Regions from separate parts of the Homo sapiens genome. Here region 2 is linked to region 1. The links are contacts of gene promoters, found by promoter capture Hi-C in blood cells and fetal thymus (Javierre and others, 2016). All regions are on one chromosome and are shown on one strand. Each heading gives the region's core, a stretch centred on a gene start or on the middle of the fragment in contact. The rest is flanking DNA. Distances are from core to core; before and after follow the strand shown. Region 1 holds the start of FERD3L (Fer3 like bHLH transcription factor). Region 2 has its middle 30 kb from the start of MIR3146.

What was found. Contacts are between HindIII fragments. The CHiCAGO score rates a contact against its expected background, and 5 or more counts as called.
Region 2: a fragment that was not itself captured here is called in contact with the fragment with the promoter of FERD3L in region 1 in 1 of 17 cell types (M0 macrophages); the score reaches 5.9 in M0 macrophages.

What each region holds. Positions count from the first base shown.
Region 1 is chr7:19,143,113-19,149,716 of GRCh38, forward strand. It overlaps FERD3L (Fer3 like bHLH transcription factor), which reads right to left and starts at 2,309. Exons shown (of 1, transcript NM_152898.2): 1 at 1,670-2,309. The coding sequence starts at 2,250. The coding sequence ends at 1,750. RefSeq lists enhancers at 1,042-2,241, 2,707-3,355. The HindIII fragment of the contact is 4,985 bases long and covers 1-2,444 here.
Region 2 is chr7:19,672,456-19,678,632 of GRCh38, forward strand. No RefSeq gene overlaps it. Among named protein-coding and RNA genes, the nearest start is that of MIR3146, 30 kb to the right of the region's middle. The HindIII fragment of the contact is 6,504 bases long and covers 186-6,177 here.

The DNA.
Region 1 (6,604 bases), core at 1,059-3,558:
CAATAAGATATGGTAATCAAAATCACATTTGAATAATATTAAAGTTAAGGGAAAACATTGCACCTTCTATAATGCCAAGTGGAAAAATATCAGTATCCCAAAGTATCTCGAATTAGTAAAATATATTGAATTTATAACTGCACAGGGAAAAAAAGACTGGAAAGAAATAGATGAAAATGCTAACAGTATGGTAACGTGGAGTGATTCGAATTTTCTCTTTTTTGAAATTTTTTTTTCCAAAATTTCTAGGATGAGTATATGTTACTTATTAATGAAATGAATTCTATTTCCGAAAGCATGATTAAGAGAATTGTGTGTTCGCACAGGCTCCCGCCTATTTCTGTGTGCAATGAGGGGCGAAATAAAGTGTTGGAATAATCACTGGGGATTATCCTTTAGGATTACTGAATTTATGTTTAGGTTGGCATTATTCAATCGGGTTCCTCGCCTCAGTTACCCACTCCTTTCTGAAAGACCCCAGTTCTGGTACTAGCACGTCACCTAGAAGGAAGAATCCTGGAATGGCACGGGTCCAAACTAGAGGCGGCCTCTCAGCATGGACCCGCTTCAACCTCATCTGCATGGCAGGCGTTTTGCAAGGCGTCAGAAGGCATCTCCTCTTTGGACTTTTTGTCTCCCCTGGTAGTCTCTAGAAGCCATTAGAGTGAAAGCTATCTTTCCTACCTACAGCTAAAAATGTAAAAGTGAGCGCGCTCAGGCGGCCCTGCTCCTAGAAAGATCCAGGCCCCTTCATACCCCAACCCCTGGCCGGGGACAGTTGGTAGCGGTGGCTGGTGGCGAAGCTGCAGGGCGCCCAAGGCCCCCTGCGGCCCAGGAGTGACCCGAGTGCACTCGCCCCTTACTCTGGCCTGGGGCCTGAAGAAGGCACTGGAACACGGAAGCTGATGCTGCACTTTAGATGCAAAGCGTAGATTTGCACTCTGGCTAAGGCACTGAATGAACACCACTGTGGCCCTGGGACAAGGAGCTGTGGTCCGTCTGGGATCAACTAGGTGGCGAAGGGGAGGGAGAAAGGAAGAGAGAGGGCTTGCGCGCGGGAGAGAGGAAGGGACGGGAGGGAGAGGGAATGGAAGACAGGAAGGGTGTCCCTTCTCAGAGGTCGCACTTTGTCAGCAGTTCCTCTCGACTGCTCTGCCTTCCATTTTTCCTTTCCTCAGTTCCTGGACAAGCCTCGGAGGACCAGGCAGAACCCTCTGGCTAGCAGAAAAGCTCGCACCCCCGCACCCTTGCGGCGTCTGCTTCAGACCCTCCACGCAGGCGCCCGCTGGAGCGCCTGCTGGGGATGGCGTACCACCGACCCTTCAGGCTTTTTAAAAACGTAAGAATTTCTACTTTATTATCTCTATGAAAAAAAAAATGTAAAGAAGAGAGGTTAGATTTTATAGAAGCTCCAAAGTCTGCCATTTGCGAGGAGGGTTCACTTCCCACCCACCCAGCCCACGGAAGCTCTTAGGAGCAGCCTGAACGGCCCCGACTCAGCCTCACGCTCTCTGACTTCCCCGCTCGCCCCTGACCCCGACTTCACTTAGGGCGGTCGCGTAGATATGAACTCTACAGCAGCCACTCTGCTCAGCGCATGTGGGGATCTTACAATCTCGACCCCGACCTCCAGAAGACCAGACGTTCTGTCTTGGGGCCTCCCTCCCGGCCCTTTAGCCTCACCCAGTGCCCGGTCCTGACACACCCCAGCACTACCAGACGAGGAAGGGCAGACTCTCCACACCAGGCTCAGCCGCTTTCCTTCTTCTCACAGCTCTCCAAGAGCTCGGTCATGAAGGAGATATAGACGATGGCCAGGCGGAGGGTCTCGATCCGGGACAGCCTTTTCTCGTAAGCAAACGTGGGCACCTTCCTCCGCAGCTGGTCAAAGGCCTCGTTGAGGTTGAACATCCGCTTCCTTTCGCGGATGTTGGCGGCCTGGCGCTGGGCGTAGGTGATCACCCTTTTCCTCTTGGGGCGGCCTAATAGGGAGACACCTCTTCCGCGCTCCTCTTCCTCCTCCTCTTCTCCGTCCCCCTGGTCCACTTCGCACTCCTCTTCTTCTGGGTCCCCCTCTTCAAACCGCGCCATCCTCCTGGGTCTTCCCTCTCGGAGCGCAAGGGCTGGGTCCCCCAAGGAGACCCCGGGTGCGAAGTCGCAGAGGAGAGGGCGTCTCGGGGAGGCCAGGGACAGGTCTGCGACGAAGTCCAGCACCGTAGTGTCCACGCAGCTCTCCGGATAGGCCGCCATCGCTTCGGCTTGGCCCTGCCTCTCATCGGTTTTCCGCAGGGAGGGGCGAGGTTGCTGGTGGGGATTCTTAACAGCCTTGAATCTGATGGGGCACCATCACCGAAAGGCCAGGGAACATTAAATATTTATAACCAAGCTGATAACAGGATTAGTCGCACCGATAAGGAATGCTCTGACAACGTCCCTTCTCTCGAAGCTTATGGAAGATGACAAGCTTGAGCACGCATGGAAGACTCAAAGGGACAGGGCTCCAGTTCTGAGATCCTTTTCTCTGCGCCACCCGGGACAGTTCCTTGTTGGCAACAACCCCCAGCTCTTACCTGCTGTGCTTTTTGTGTCTGTCTTCACCCCTGCAGCCAACTAATGTTCTCCAGGCTCCTTATCTCGTGTAGTTCTTTAATTTCGTGTTGGATTTTCAAAGCGAGGATGTTTTCCACCGCGATGGCTTCTCCTTGACTTCAGGGTAGGAGTCTTGAATCTTGCCACCATCTGCCAATGGATGTGGAGCAAGTGCATGTGCTTTTAATGATGTCCTGAAGAGGGGCCCTGCCTGCCTGGCATCAAGGGGAGCTGTTTGTCTGGTATCCCAGTGCAGCGGCTGCTGAAAGGCAAGACCTTCAATTAGCTTAAGTAAGCATGGCAGGGGGACCGAGAGTGCATTCCCCAGAGTCGCTGTTGGAACCGGCTTTCTTTTCTTTCCAGGGCATCGCAAACAGCTCTCCTGCCACGTTACAAACCCTGACTTCTAAAGTCTGTTTGGATGCAATCAGCGTAACAATTGAGATACTTGACTTTCCTTTCCCTACCTTTACCTCCTACTCATATAAAATAGAGGATTTTATTCCAAGAGGAAAAGTTATGATGGCAATAAAATGAGAAATTTAAGCTCAGGATATTTTCTATGCTCGGGCTTTGCTGTATACTTTTCAGTGTGGGGGACAAAGCAAACTCTCCTCACAAACAAAACCACTTCAAGCTCTTTTCAGAAATGCGATTTGCCCTTGATAAGCCAAAGAGTCAATCAGCTCACCCTCTGCTGAGGAGTCTTCGGACTTTTAAATTGCGGATCGAGTATTTGTTCCCGAACAAAGAAAAAAACCTAACACTTCCATCTGGCGTATTTTCCTCATTGATTTGTATTGTCCTACAGTAAGACTTAAGTGCAGAAACAATGATTTATTGAAATATATTTAAGGGAGTTTTTGGCTATCGTTAGATCGTTATTTTTGAGAAAAGAAAGAGATTTTAAATTTGGCATAAGAAAAATAAGAGATTACTCATTTTATATTATCTCGAGTATCCCAAATATTTTAACAAAAAGGTTCTTTTTCTTTGTTTGCCAATAACTATATTTACTTAATTATTCAGTACTGTGTAAAGATTTATTTAAAAGACCCATTGTGTCAAAGTGACAGATTAGAAGATAATTTTAAAGGTAGATTGGAAGAAATAGCCTAAAAAGATGAATGTAGAAACATCCCGGTTCAAAAGAGAACTGCCCAGGACGTCAGTCCCTATTAAGGGGGTAAGTTGTGGTTATGATGGTTCACTCAGTACATTGGACAGCTCCCAGAAACCAGAAACCGCCTATTTCTAACAGGTAATCTCAATTCATTTTCTTCTTCCTAGCCTCTATGTGTGTAATCAAAACAGTATAACCTTTAATTCTTCTTCTTCTTTTAACCCATTTGTGTCTGGTGTCTCTCGATCTTTTAATAGATTTTATCTTCTTTTGCTTGTGTTTACTCTTCATTCTCCAGTTTGAATTGTGATAACTCAGGCAGAGAATAATTGAAATTTGTGATCCTGGAAGATGTTAAAGAGAATGAGATCTTTGGTTGTTACTTAGTTGATTTTTGCTAAGCATCTTTCAAAGGGAAGGCTGAAAAATAAATAATAGGATTGTCAACAGTGGCTATGAAGCTAGTAAATGGGAGAACTGATTTTTGTTTCAAAAAAGTAGTAACATGCTTGCTAACCCTCGTTTAAATTAATATGTTATTAAATATTTGGACAAATTTCTTGTTGATTTTTAAATTATGTTAAATGCTTCTCAGTGACTTATTTTGTATTCATTTACAATCTATTTGCAAGTGGATTAAACACCTCAGTCAATTGAGAATCTAGTTTCGCAATATAATACACTGGAAAACAATGAAGGAAAACATGGTTGATATTTAAATTTAAAATTTCATAAAATGGGGGTCAGAAGCCTTCATGAGACTAAAGAGATAGTTTCATTGGACTGAACTCCTTTATGATTTTAGCCAAGGCAATGTACCTTTCTTGCTTGCCTTCCTTCCTTCCTTCCTTCCTTCTTTCTTTCCTTCCTTCCTCTCTCCCTCCCTCCCCCTTACTCCTTTTTCTTTCTTTCTTTCTTTCTTTCTTTCTTTCTTTCTTTCTTTCTTTCTTTCTTTCTTTCTTTCTTTCTTTTTCTTTCTTTCTTCTTTCTTTCTCTTTCTTTCTTTCTTTCTTCTTTCTCTCTTTCTTTCTTTCTTTCTTTTTCTTTCCTCCTTCTCTCTTTCAACAGAGCCTCACTCAGTCATCGAGGCTGGAGCGCAGTGCTACAATCATAGCTTACTGTGCCTCAAACTCCTGGGCCCAAGCAACTCTCCTGCCTCAGCCTCCCGAGTACCTAGGACTGCAGGCACTGGCCACCTCATCAAGCTAAAGGTTTTGTTCTTTAGAGAGGAGGTCTAACTATTTTGCTCAGGCCTCAACCAGTCCTCTCACCTTGACCTCCCAAAGTGCTGAGATTACTGGCCTGAGCCACTGCAGCTGGCAGAGAATGGAGATTTCAATAATCATATCACAAAAGGAACTGTAGCAAAAGTAATGGAACCAGTGCCTAGAACTGGGTTGAAATACTTGTATTAAAGTATTAGGAATTTTTTAAATGTCCTAATAGGTACACCTACAGCAATTATTTTAAAATATTTTCTTTTTTATTTCATCATAAAAATCCCAGGATAAACACTTCTGTTTATACCACCTTAATTTCTGTTTATCTTACAAGGTTATAATCATGCTAATATAATTAAAGCAAAAAATGTTAAAATCTAAGTTATGAGTGTTTTTATTTATAATTATAATTAGTTATATAAATTAACAGTTACAGTTATTTCATTTATAATTATAATTAATTATAGGAATAACTGAAATTCTTTTTCTCTGCTTATTGTGAAATGGTCATTTTATTTTTAGAAGACTTTTGTGGGTATTTGGTTCCACAGTAAATATATATGGCAAAAGCAGTAAATTTATAAAGTACCAAGTGATGTTACAGTTCATCCTATTGGAAGGAATCATTATTTTCATTTCTAGATTTGAAAGTTAAGAGAGAGATGTTTTTTAAAAACTCAATTGAGGATTAAAAGAAGCTAAGTTCAACCTTGATTCCTCTGTGTTCTAGGCCTATAGTTTACAGTTATTCAGTGACCTATAGGGAGGCATTTATAAAAAGTTTGATAACTCCTCACAAATTTTACTCAAAATATTTCAAGAAATGATTATGAAATGACAATCAGTTTTGCTTATTTGATTATCTAGTTTATTTCTATTGACCATTCCTATTAGACATAAAACATTTTGTTTATACTATTAAACTGTTCAGAATCAAAGCAAAAAGAAAAAAAAATGACCAAGAATAACTTAAGCAGTAATTCTTGAATGAGCTGAAGCCTGGGTTTAATGGTGCAAAGGGGAGAAAGGTAGATAAATAAAGCATCCAGGGAGTAAAGCAAATATATAAATCCCCCCAATTAAAAAAACCCTACCTTTCCTTCCTCATGTCCCTTCCTCTTTTATTCCAGAAACATTAACTTTTAGGGCAAATGATAAAGATATGACGAAGCTAGATGTCTGTGATGATTGTAGGAGAAAGGCATAAGAAGTACTCCTTCCGCTGACCTGGAGAAGGGACCAGTGTCTTCTTCCTATTCAATTTCAAATTATGTATGGTTGTGACCACGGCTGGTTTTAGAGATAGAAGAATATATATCCATTTATTTTGCTTTTTTCATTTCATATTTTAGGTAAACTTTTTTGAAGCTCAGTGTATGTACTTTAAAATTCGCAAATTATATACATGCAGCTTCATGAATTTTCAAAGTGAATGTATCCATGAAACCAGTGCCCAAATCAAGAAATGGAATGCCTTTTTGAAGTTTGAGGTAATGTAAGAACAGTTAAGTTTATAGCTTGAGACTGTTTCACAAAGTGAGCATATGCATAATCTATAAAAATAAATTATATTCTGTATACTATTGTGTCTTTCAGTCAATATTTTATTTATGCAATTTGTGCATATTCTCATTGTTGAATAATATTTCACTGTGTAAATATACCACTATTT
Region 2 (6,177 bases), core at 2,188-4,687, 530 kb after region 1:
AATTGAGAGATATTCTATATTAATGAATTTGAAGGTGTAATATTACTGAGATGTTAAATCTTCCTTTAATGGAATTCTAATAAAATTCCCATCAAGTTAAGATTTTTTTAAAAGCCTCTCAATGAACAAATTGGGCAAAAGATCTAAATAGACACCTCTCCAAAGAGATAGACGGATGGCAAATAAGCTTATGAAAAGATACTCAATATACATTAGGGATATACAAATTAAAACAACCATGAGATATGACTGCACACATTAAAATGTCTAAAATAAAATAAAATAAAAACCCTGACAATACTAATTACTGATAAGGTTGCAGAGCAACAGAAAGTCCATTGCTGATGTGAATGTAAAATGGTACAACAAATTTGGAAGACAGCTTGACAGTTTCTTACAAAGTAAAATGTAGCCTTATTATGCAATTTAGCAGTTTTCTTCTAGGTATTTAGTCAATTGATTTGAAATGTTGTTAGGAGCTTTATTCATAATTGCCAAACTGAAAGGAGCCAAATCTCCTTCAAAAGGTGAAATAAACTTCCATTCAGTGGAATAGTACTCAGCAATAAAAAGGAATGAGCTATCAAGCCATGAAAATACATGTATTCATTTTAAATGCATATTGCCAAATAAAAGAAAGCATTCTGAAAGGCTATATATATTGTATGATTTGGTTATTTGCCATTCATGAACTGTCAAAACTGTAGAGATGACAAAAATATTAGTGGCTAAGAGAGGCTTAGAACAAGAGGAAGAGTTAAGTAAGTGAAGCACCATGCATTTTTTTGAGCAATGTCACTATTTTTATGACACCATAATGATGGATACAAAATACTGTGTATTTGTCAAAACTCACAGAACTTTACAGCAAAAAGAGAGGCTTAAATATGCAAATTTCTTTAAAAATTATTTAAGAGGTCATAGGACTCCTAGGATGAAATTTAGAATGTAACAGTAGCTCTGTCATCTTATTATTTCTTTACCATTTGTTCTCTTTATTCTTTGTTTCTCTGTTTCCTAGCTTCTGCCTTATTTTGAATTATTTGAATAATTTTTAATATTCCACTTCAGCTATATCTCTTCGAATAGTTTTTCATAGTGGTTGCTCTAGGAATTAAAATAGACATGGTTAACTTTTCATCATCTACTCTGAATTAATATTTTAATTTAAAGGGAATGTAGAAACCTTATCATATAGATAGGTCCCTTTACTCTGCTTCATTTGTCTTGCAGGTATCATAAGTGTTGCACATATATACACTGAAGCACCATCATATATATTTTATAGAACTTTAGAGGAGAAATATTATCTATCGTATTTACCCCGATGTTTGCCATTTTCATTGTTCTCCCTTTATTCTTAAAATTCTTTCTCTCTAGTAGCAATTCCCTTTCATCTAAAGATCTTTTAGTATTTCTTTAAGAGTAAGTCTGCTATTAACAAATTCCCTCAGCTTTTCTCAATCTGAGAAGGTATTTATTTATCTTTCAATATTTTAAAATCTTTTTCCTCTTGTTCAGATTAGATCATTTATATTAATCTGTCTTTAAGTGTACTGATTTCCTCTGTCATCTTCATTCTGCTGTCAAGCATACAGTGAAATTGTTTTCACTTGTAATTTTCAGTTCCAAAATGTCCATTTGGTTTCTTTCTATATCTTTCTCTGCTGAGACTTTCCAGCTTTCCATTCATTTCAGGTGTGTTCAATGTACTTACTTTTTGGAACATGGCTATAATAGCTATTTTACAATCCTAGTCTAATAATTTCAATTGCTATGTGTTGGTATTTATTGTATTTTACCTAGCAACATGCTGAGATTTTCCTGGTTCTTATATATTGAACAATTTTGGATTATATCTTGGGTCTTTTGAATATTATATGACTCTGGGTTTTATTTTAGTCCTATGGAAAAATACTCATTTATTTATTTACTTGCTTGTTTGGGCATGAAATTGGCTTGTGAGATTAAAGCAGCAAGTTTATACCTGCTTTCTGTGGGCTGTAGTTTCAATGTTAGTTCAATTTCAAATGCAACACGATAGCTACTATGAGACGTGGATGGCAGTCTAAATTCACAGTTCAGTTCTTGAATCCTTCTACACACTGTTTAGAGTCAAATTTGAAAATAGTTACAGGGCAAGGACAAAAGCAAATACAAAACTTTAGAGTATTGCTTTCTTGAGCTCTCTCCTCTCTATACTCTCCCAGTGGTTTCTAACTCCCAGAGGCCCTTCTCACTGATCCTCTTCATAAAAAGCTGTGGCTTTAGTTTCCTACTGTGTCATGCATTCCTGAAAATGTGTCTGCATCCAGAGCCAAGTGGTGAGAGGGTAAAGAGAGAAAAATAAATTATTGGACATTCTCCCCTCTTGAGATCAGATTCTCTGGTCAACGATAAAACGCCACTCTCTTAAGTTTTAGGCTGTTGACTACTCACTGATGCTGTTGCTGCCATTGCTGCTACAGGATTACTTGGAAGGTGGCGCCAAAAGTAACACACACACAAAAAAGAAGAAAATTGTCCCACTCTCGTTGACTCACAGGGGCCTCCTTTCCTGCTCATCGGATGGCCTAGAAATAGGTTCCTTTGGAACTCTTTCTGTCTGCACCCAGTGTACATTTCTTGACTGCTTTTAAGTTTAGGTCAGAAGATACTGGGGGAAAAAAATGAGAAACTCACTATTGGTTGTATGGTATATTACTTTCTAGTTTCCTTTGCCAATTCACTGGTTGACAATAACCAGAAGCACCTCTAAAAAGTATTAAATGTAATTATTTTTCATGTGATAGCATTTTAGTTAATGTATATTGTGAAAGACTTTGGAGTGTACTTCAAGAGCTCCTTCATCTGTGTGATGACTCTAGGGATAAAATGGAATTAGATAGACATAAGGTGGAAGGGATAATTATTTTCTGAGAAAAAAATATTGCACTGAATTTCCAAATATATTAAGAACTTAGCAATGAAATATTAATAAACAAAATAAATCAGTTGATCTGTGATTTATAGTTAGAAACACTAATTGAAACGAAATAGCATCAAACAAATGAAGAACTGAGTTTCCAAATAAAAATCAGAAAGGGTAGGAAGCTCTCATCAAGCATATTAGCATTTATATTTGTTGATTTTTAAAGTTCTTTTGATTATTCTGCTATAGGAATGACTGTTTATATTATATAATATACAAAAGATGCAAGCAAGAAGAAGAGAAGGTAAAATGGTACATGTACATGGGAATGATGTGGAAAAGTTAATTTGATTAAAAAAGAGACAGTATCATAAATTATTTCAACCATTGTGGAAGACAGTGTGGCTATTCCTTAAAGACCTACAGAAACACCACTTGACCCAGCAATCCCATTAATGGATATATACCCAAAGGGATATAAAAAATTCTATTATAAATACACACAGACGTGTATGTTCATTGCAGCACTATTCATAATAGCAAAGACATGGAATCAACCTAAATGCCCATCAATGATAGAATAAAGAAAATGTGATACATATGCACCATGGACTACTATGCAGCCATAAAAAAGAATGACATCATGGCCTTTGCAGTGACATGGATGGAGCTGCAGACCATTATCCTTAGCAAACTAATGCAGGAACAGAAAACCAAACACCACATGCTCTCACTTATAAGTGTGAGCTAAATGATGACAACACATAGACACATAGAGGGGAAACAACACACACTGGGGCCTGTCAGTGGGTGAAGGGTGGAAGGAGGGGGAGGATCAGGAAGAATAACTAATGGGTACCAGGCTTAATACCTGGGTGACAAAATAATCTGTACAACAGACCTCCAAGACACAAGTTCACCCATGTAACAAACCTGCACTCATACCCCTGAACTTAAAAAAGAAGATATGAAAAAGTAAGAGGAGTTAGGAGACAAGAACCATGAGAAAGATATTATTACTACTCCCTGTGTGGATTGTAAAATTGGAATGTTTATTTTAATTCTCTACAGGAGCAAAAAATTAAAAAATAATGAATACATTTTTCTAAATGGGGATATGAGAAATTAAAGTTCCTCATTAATGTTCTCTTATTTCCACTCATTAGTAACATTCAGAAGGCCCAGGATACTTTCCTTTCTTTAGTCTCATTCTATTCATAGAAAACTTGAGCTATTAGAACTTGTTACCTGGTTACCTCTAGAAAAAATTATATGATGTCTTATTAAGTTTATTTCAGATTTTAAAAAGGATAAAAATGCAGTTGACTTATTACAAATAAAATCACTTCTTCTATGAGATAACTTTAATCCAATTACATTTATCCTTGTGTTTTATGTAATGATCTATGTACATTTTTTGCTCAATTTTACACTATTATAATCAATTTTACTCTGCCTTAATTTGTACATCTTCAAGTTATTCTGAGGTTACTTTGCCATCCATTTAACAGTCATGAAGTCCTATTATTGAGTTATTACATTACTTTAATCTTGCTTAAATCTGTCTGGTCCTTAATTATTTCTCTTCTCAAAATAATCTTCAATTTGTCAGCTAGGCCCATAGTTTTATATATACTATTATACTTTTTACCATAATAGCATGGCTTTAACTTTTAACTATAATAAGTACTTGAAAGTTTTAAAGATATTTTTCTTATTGACTTTTAGGATTGGACATAGTTTGCATTAGAAAAACCATGAGCACAATTGCCAAAAAACATTGGCCATAATACTTCTCTCTTCCACATTCATTATATCACACATTTAGAATTTGAATGACAAATAATTGGAACTGAAATATAATAATGTAACAGACCAGCTGTCCTGCAGCGTTAAAATAGAGTGAGGAAGAATACAACTATAAACACTGTTTCCTCTTTCGAAATAACTCATTTATCCTTCACTTTAGAAAGCATAAAATATAGTAGTCCCCTTTTATCTGTGGTTTTGCTTTATCTGATTTCAGTTACTTGTGGTCAACCAGTCTGAAAACATTGTATGGAAAATTTCAGTAATAAATACCTCATAAGTTTTAAATTGTGCACCATTTTTAGTAGCTTGATGAAATCTCACACTGTTCTGTTCTGTCTTTTCTTGATCCCAAGAAGGGTAGGCCATGTGCAGTGGCTCATGCTTCTAATTCCAGCAATTTGGAAAGCCAACGCTGGAGGATCGCTTGAGCCCAGGAGTTCAAGGCTGCTTTGAGCTATGATCACATCCCTGCACTCCAGCCTGGGTAATAGAGCAAGACCCTCTCTCTTAAACAAGGAAACAAACAAAAACAAACAAAAAACTAGAAGGAAGTGCAGTACAATAAGATATTTTGAGGGAGACACCATATTTATATAACTCTTATTACAGTACTCTTATTACAAATTGAACTTTATCATAGGCATGTATGTATAGGAAAATACATAGTATATGTATATATATATATATATATATATATATAGGGTTTGGCAGTATCCACAATTTCAGGCATTCACTGGGAGCTTTGGAATATATCCCTCATGGGGACTACTGTATTTTTATAATATTTACTAACTCAATTGCTGACTAATTCATAATAAAAACCATTGTTCATCTGCTCCCCGTCCCATATACATACCTGTTTTATGTGTTTTTTGGGTTTGGTGTTTAAAAGACTAAACTAAATCTTACTAAGGTAGAGTTCCTTAGGTTCTTTGAGAAATGTATTAAATATTTTATGAAAGTAACGTCATAGTGACTTCCAGATTTACTCTAAAAAATCTTGCCCATTTTGTGAGAAAGGTGACATAATCGGCTGTCCAAAGATGGGTCTCTACTATGAAGGAAAGTGAACCAATCTGCGTAATTTGGCCATTGTGGTGAGCAAAACGGACCATTGCTCAAAAGATTTTCTTTAGTTCAAGAGTTTCTTTGTAGAGGAGGAGACAATGTAAGGACCATCCGTTAATCATACTTATAGCCTTCTTGGCACTCAACAGAACACCTGCAAATAGTAGGCATTTAATGCACAGTTTTTTTTTTGTTTTTAGTTGGTTTGTTTGAGACGGGATTTTGCTCTTGTTGCCCAGGCTGGAGGGCAATAGCACAATCTCGGCTCACTGAAACCTCCACCTCCCGAGTTCAAGTGATTCTCCTGCCTAAGCCTCCTGTGTAGCTGGGTTTAGAGGCGCCCACCAGCATGCCTGGCTAATTTTTGTATTTTTAGTAGAGATAGG